Regions from separate parts of the Homo sapiens genome. Here region 1 is linked to region 2. The links are contacts of gene promoters, found by promoter capture Hi-C in blood cells and fetal thymus (Javierre and others, 2016). All regions are on one chromosome and are shown on one strand. Each heading gives the region's core, a stretch centred on a gene start or on the middle of the fragment in contact. The rest is flanking DNA. Distances are from core to core; before and after follow the strand shown.

What was found. Contacts are between HindIII fragments. The CHiCAGO score rates a contact against its expected background, and 5 or more counts as called.
Region 1: the fragment with the promoter of B3GNT7 here is called in contact with the fragment with the promoter of PSMD1 in region 2 in 14 of 17 cell types (M0 macrophages, M1 macrophages, total B cells and 11 more); the score reaches 18.8 in M0 macrophages.

Annotation. Positions count from the first base shown.
Region 1 is chr2:231,393,877-231,397,186 of GRCh38, reverse strand. It overlaps B3GNT7 (UDP-GlcNAc:betaGal beta-1,3-N-acetylglucosaminyltransferase 7), which reads right to left and starts at 1,477. Exons shown (of 2, transcript NM_145236.3): 1 at 1,373-1,477. The coding sequence starts at 1,383. RefSeq lists enhancers at 1-77, 2,346-2,395, 2,691-3,272, 3,273-3,310 and a silencer at 1,326-1,795. The HindIII fragment of the contact is 8,411 bases long and covers 1-2,062 here.
Region 2 is chr2:231,055,589-231,059,066 of GRCh38, reverse strand. It overlaps PSMD1 (proteasome 26S subunit, non-ATPase 1), which reads right to left and starts at 2,200. Exons shown (of 25, transcript NM_002807.4): 1 at 2,026-2,200. The coding sequence starts at 2,041. It overlaps LOC112268432 (a long non-coding RNA gene), which reads left to right and starts at 1,321. Exons shown (of 2, transcript XR_002959456.2): 1 at 1,321-1,730. RefSeq lists a silencer at 2,110-2,299. The HindIII fragment of the contact is 9,212 bases long and covers 79-3,478 here.

The DNA of each region.
Region 1 (3,310 bases), core at 228-2,727, 340 kb before region 2:
CCATCACATGTGGGGCACATTGGAGAGTGGCTCGAGCTTGGGACCTGAGGAAGACTGGCCCTCCTCCCCCTTCTCCAGTCTGTCTCACCCAACAAAGAGCAGCCCTCATGGTTGATGGAGGCCCAAGGATGCAGTGAGCACCTCTAGCATGGCACTGCCCCTCACCCCTACCTTAACATCCCCAGCTCATAACACCCCATTAGAAGACATGAGGCTACAGCTCTACTCCCTGGGAGGGGGCACATTTGCAGCTCCAGCCCTTGAGGGACCCTTCTTGCCCAGAGACCCCCCCACCCCAACCCCGGTCCACACCCATTTCGGAAGCAGAAATTAGAGCTCTCTGCCAGGAGTGCTGGTCGTCCCAAGCCCTGGGGCCTGAGCCCCTGTCCTGAAGGACCTCCTCTCTTCATCTCACCCTCCGGGGGCTGCCAGGACACCTGCCCCACCCTCCCCAGTGGAGACCTGGGGGCTGAGAGCTCTGGGGACAGCAGAGTGGCCTTCCAGGGCCAGCCTAGCAGAGAGATGGCGCTGACCTCCAAGGGGGAGGAGCAGGGTGCCAGGAGAGACAGGCAGCCCGTGGAGACGCCTGGGTTGCCCTGAGGGCTGGTCCGGTTGCAGGTCCAGGCCCCAGGGTGAATGCAGGCTGAGCCCCATAGAGCGACATTTTCCCCATAGGGTCCCCAGGTTGCTGGGGCATGTGGTTGGAGGAAGACAGGGGCACCTTAGGTGCAGGCTGGGGGGTGTGACCCAAGGTCCAGCTCTCCGGGGAGGAAACGGAGGGCTCCGGATCCGGCCCTGCCAGCCCTAGGGGTTCCAGGGAAGCCGCCCACCGAGGCCGGGACGGGGGAGGTCGGGGGGTGCACCGGGAAGGCGGCGAGGCCCTGGGCTGCGGGCGCTCCACCTGCCGGGTCCGCTCCATTCGTAGGGAAAGCCCGGGAGGGGCGGAGAGGGGCCGGGCGGGCGGCGGTCCGAGGTCCCGCGGAAGGAAGCCCCGAGAGGAGGAGAGTGGCCCGGACGCAGGGGGCCCTCAGGGGTCTGGAAGGGAGAGGGGACCCAGCTGCCGGCAAGACCTGGGGTCCCAGCCGCCAGGGTCCTGGAGCGGTGTCCAGGGCCGCGGGGCCGGGGAGCTGAGCGCGGCGCCCCGAGACCCCTCGACGTCCCCCACGGGTCCGGGGCCGCGTACCGCGAACATCTCCCGCCGCCGCCGCCGCGCCCGCCCGCCCATCCGCCCCCGGGAAACTGAGGCCGGCGCGGCGCGCGCGGGGGCATCTCCTATCCCGGGAGTCCCGGCGCCCGTCTGTGGCCACGGAGGAGGGGGAGCCCCGGGCCCACGCCCCCGCCCAGGCCCCCGACGGCCCCCAGCCCCACTCACCACAGCGACATGGCGGCCCGGGCCGGAGCGGCGGAGGGGCGAGCGGCTCGCAGCTCTGGGCGCCACGGCTCGGGCCGGCGGGACGGCGGGCGGGTGGGGACGGAGACCGGGCCGCGCCCCCGCCGCGACTTTCCTCTTCCCGGCCGCGGGAGGAGGGGCCGGCAGGGGCGGTGGCCCAGGTGCCTTAACCCCTTCGGCGCCCAGGGCCCGCCCCGCCGCCGCCTGGCGGGGACCACCCCATTTCTCCGAGACGGCCCCTAGGCTCCCCAAGCGCGCCTAGTAGACAGTGCATGGCCGAGGCGGGGCTTCGGAACCCACGGGGGTCACCTCCAATCCCGGGGACGCCTGTCCCTGGCGGAGCCTCCCGGGGCGGGGGGAGGGCGGTCGCCGGTCCCTCCTGTACTTGTGCGAAACCTGAACACCCGGTCCCCTCCAAGACCCTGGGGCACCCCAAGGCCCAGCCATTTCCCTCTGGCCCCATTCGGACTTGTCTTTGGGGCCAGAGGCAGACAGGGTGTCCTTTTCTCCCTCTGCTACCTTCTGCCCCTGCACCTTTCCCCTGACCAGACGGACCCCTTGCCCAGCTGTTGGGCTACCTAGGGCCAGGAGCAAAGCCAGCCACTAGGGAAAGAGGCCGTATGAGACTGGGCTCCATGTCAGGACTCGCCCAGGCCTGTGGCTCTGGAAGCTTTTTTTGTGCCCCCACCATGTCCCTCTCTTCACCTCTGGGGTTCCTCCCACCTCTGAGGGCTCCCCACCACCAAGGGAAGGCCTGTTGGCCCAGCCCTATCTCCTTTCTTTTTTCACTTATCACTCAAAACCCTTTTTGTCCTCAAGCCTTTATTAGTCTGCTTGTGCACATCAGGCCTAGCGGCTCTGGGGAGTGGGCTGACAGAGAACACGGAGAGGGCTTGGTCCAGCCAGGTGACTTCCAGAATCCTCCAGCAGGGAGAGCCATCGCTGGTCCTGTTGTTGCTCAGGTTGTTCTGGTCTTGTTCCGGGTTGAGGTTTCGGTGCTTAGCATCCAGCAGGACCTCCAAAAGGCCCACAGAATTGAAACGGAAGCACGTTGTGGTCCAATCATAACAGCTAACGTCCACTGAGCAGCTACAATATGCCAAACCTGGTTCTCGGCCCATGCATGACTGGCTCACTTAATCCTAGAGACATACGCTATTATTCCCACCTTACAGGGGAGGAAACGGGGGTGCAGAGGGGAACTCCCAGCCAGCTCAGAGAACAGCGAGCCCAGAGTTAGTAAGCACATCCAGGAGGCCTGCATGGCCTGAAGGCTGGCTCTGAACCCTTCCTGCCTGGTCTGAAGGCTGGCTCTGAGCCCTTCCTCAACCTTTTTTCCTTTCCCAGGGACAGCAGTGACATGGAGCTACTTTCCTGCCCAGCACACAGGGAGGCTAGGAGTCCTCAGCTGGATCTTAAGCCCTCGAGGCCAGGGTGAGGAGCCCCTTCTGCCCTATCCTTAAGGTTCAAGGGCCCTTTGGAGGGGGAGGAGAAACTTAAGGTACCATAGAATGTTCTGGAATGTTGTAAGTGCCAATTAGGGAATGTGAAGGGCCTTTCAGGCAGAATTTCAGAGGAGTATCTTGGGGCTGATGTCCTTTGTAATGGCCCTCCAAAAGTTCCAGAGCAGGGGAGGGGCTGACCTGCAGCCCAAAGCCCCTGTTGGCCTGGCTGCCTGCCACTGAGGGCCACCCGCAGATTCTGCAGCTCCACGGCTCCCTTCATCCCAGTGTAGCCTTGGCCACCGGTTCCCGCAGGGCACCAAGCATTTTGCTCCACTGCCCAGCCTTCCGAGTTCCCCACTTCACCCTGCAAGTGTGGCCCTGGCTTCCCTGGCTCCACACAGGTGCCCTGCTGAGAGCTGCCTCCCTGGCTTCAGCACTGACCTCTCACCCGGTGCTGTGGGGTCTCCTCCTCCTG
Region 2 (3,478 bases), core at 951-3,450:
ACTGAGCTCTTCAGTCAAGACATACTTTTGAATTTCTGCCATGCTCTCAGCAGTATTCTAGAATTGTGAAAACAAGCTTCCTGCTCAAAATTCTACCAGAGAGAGAGAGAGAGACAGTGATCAGGCAAGTAAACAAACAAGGCAATTACAGAGCTGTGGTGGAGGGAGAGTAAGCGTGTTTTAATAGAATGATCAGGGAAGGATAACATTTGAGTTGAGACAAAAGATTGAGAAGCTAAGGGAAAATCTGAGGAAGAGAAGACTAGAAAGGAACAGAATGTGCCAGGGCCCCGAGATAGGAGAGAAACTGACATATCCAAGGAACAAAAAGTCCAGTGTGATTAGGATGTATTGAGTGAAGACAGTACTACAAGACAAGGCGGGAATCAGATCATGTGGGTCCTTGGTTAAGAGTCTGGATTTTACTGTATGCCAGGGGTGTCCAACCTTTTGGCTCCCCTGGGCCACAATGGAAGAAGTATCTTGGGGCATACATAAAATACACTAACACTAATGATAGCTAATGAGCTTAAAAAAAAAAAAAAAGGTTTGTATATAATTTTCACGATGTCCGACCACCACAGTAAGAAAAAAAGTCCTCGAATTCAAAGGGTTGGACACGGCTGCTCTAAACACAATGTAAGCACTGGTGGATTGTAAGCAAAGAAGTATTATGTGATTAAAGTTTTAAAAAGCATAGTCCACAAGAAAAACGGGCTGTACGGAGGTAATGGTCGAAAACAAAGCCTTAAGGCTGATATAGTAACCCAGACAAGAGATGAAGGTGGTTTGGGCCGAGTTAGAAGAAACATTGGTAATGGATGGATTTGAAATAGAATGAGGCCTATAGGTGGCAAGAAACTGAGTGTTTATTTGATCTTTACAAAGCTCTGACTGGAAAAACTTCCTGATACTGAACTAAAATTCATCTCGCGATCACTTGTATCTCTTGGGGACAAAAAGTCTTATTTCAGGTACAAGTGACAGCTCTTCAAATGTTTGAAAGTAACTACGTCTCCCAGTATCTCCAACGATCTCCTTAACCAATCCTCATAAAAATAAAGTTTTGATCGCCTTACCATTCAGATTACTGTCTTCTGCTCACCAGTTTGTTTACAATAAAATGCTTTCTTTGTGGGTCAAACACAGAGTAAGAAAATGAGAAAAGGGTATGTAAATAGGCAACGGAAAAAAGCACCAAGGCTCTGGACAGCTATATGCAAGTCAATCTGTAACGGGGAGCTTAAGTCTCCAATTGAAACTTGATCTCTGTAACTTACTCCATTGCAAATGTCACTACGTGAATCTACCTATGCAATGGTTTGCGCGTATGAAACCTGCTCCGCAGATCCATCCATTCTTTCTTGAATGTACAGTCAACAGACTGAGCACATAACCTCGAAAGGGTATAAGTAGGCTCTCAGTATAAAGGTATCTCCAGGGCGTCTTTAGGGTCTTCGCCGAACCCAAAAGTTCTCTGGGTGTTTTGAATGAACACCCTTGGATCGGACCCAGAAATGACCCACCTCAAACCTAATTTCGGGTTTCATTCTAAGGCGAATGGAGCTCGGCCACGTCCAGAAACACTTCTGTAGCAGTTAGGCTGCCCGATCAGGGGGGTTTGCCTTACTGTTCAATGGCACAGGGGCCCATCCCACCCCGGCCCCCTGCGGGCAAGAACTGGGGCTGGACGACCTCACACGGCCAAGAATGGGAGGCACAGAAAAAAGGTAAGCCCTTCTGGGGTCAGGGGAAGGCCCAGGAAGCCCCTCGGGTCCTGGCGCTGGGGTGTGATTGGGGAGGGATGCCGAGGCGGTCGACCCGGCTCGATTCCCTCAAGCCAGAGAAGCACGCAGTGACCTGATCAGACTCCCAGCCCCCCGGCCCGGGGGTGGGCCCTGGGCAGCAAGAAGCTGCCCAGGCCGGCGTTCCGCCGGGAGGCGCCCAGTCACCGGCCCTGACTCAGCTAAAAGCCGGCGCGGCGGCGGCTCCTCCCTCCAGGCGCTGGCTACGGGCCGCACTCACCGGCCGAGGTGATCATGGCTGCGCCCCTCACTCGCCCGTCGGCTCGCTCGCCGTTCCAGCTGCGCAGTGTATCTGTCAGCTCAGGGGCCGCTCAGTTCACCGCGCCTCCTTGCTCCCCGGGTGCGCTGCTCAGTCAGTCGCCTCCTCAGGCCGCCGGCTCGCTTCTCGCCAGGACCCCGCCCGCCCAGGGGCTGCCCGCCACCCCGCCTGCCGCCCGGCGCGAATTCTCCCCTGGCCTGCGTCTTCTGCGCGGCGGTATACTCCCCAGCCCTCGCGGAAGGGTACACAGAGAACACCATTGTTTTCTCTAAACCTCCTCGAGGTCAGGAGTCCCGCGCAACGGAACACTGGTCTGCACCTGAGGTCAGGCATTAGAATGGCCAGCCCTGCAAAGAGAGGACCCCCACCATCACCCGCCATTGCTGAGAGAAAGGGTGTTGAGGGGAGGTGCGAGCATTGCGCGCAGTGCCACCTACTGGTGGGAGGTCTCGCTGCAACACATCTCCCACCAGATAATGCTTAGGGAATTGGGGCTGCCGCAAACAGCGTTTTTTTTTGTTTTTTGTTTTTTTTCCCAGAAAAGTGGCTTTCAATTGTTTTCTAAAGCAAAACCTATCATAAAAAAAAGAAAATCCCCATAGAAGTGCTTTATTATCATAATGAATCCACAAGTAATCATTGGCTTATTATAAAGTTGAACAATGAAGGTTTTTACTTACTTTTGGAAAAATGTCCAGTGTTGTCAATATATTAAAATGTGCAGTAGTTATATGGCGAAAGCCTTTCCAAGGGAGAAAAAATGTCTTCCATTCTTTCCTTCTATCTGCCCAGGTCCTCTTTCCCCCGACGGCAGTGGGTTCTTCGTTTCTAATACATCTTCAGAAATTTGAAATGGCAGTTGCAATGGCCATTTGCAGTCTTATGCTAGCTTCAAGAAGTCAATTTATTTCAAGAGTCAGTACTGAGAAAGTCTTGACAAGGAATAGGGCAAACGGTAGCATTTTTTTCAGCCACCGGCCTTGCACTATCAAGCTAAACTCTTCAATCGCACAGCGATGGCGAGTTCATTTCTACGGCCTTCTACGTAACCTAGGGGCACAATCAATGTCTTGTGGTTGCCAGTGAATTAAATGTGCTTGATAACACATTTTGTTGTATCTGTGACTTTTTTTGTTTAAATTAGAATTCTTAAACTGTGGTTGTTTAAAATATATTAAATATAATTATTGAACATTTTTGAAGAGCCTGTGGCTCAGATTGAAAGGCAGGGCTCGAGAAGATGTGCATGCAAAGTAAACAGATTACTTGGGGTGTCATTCTACAGAGGTACTTCTTTTTTTTTTTTTTTGAGATGGAGTGTCCCTCTGCCACCCAGGCTGTAGGGCAATGGCGCGATCTCGGCTCACTGCAACCTCCGCCTCCTGGGTTCAAGCGATTCTCCTGCTCAGTCTCC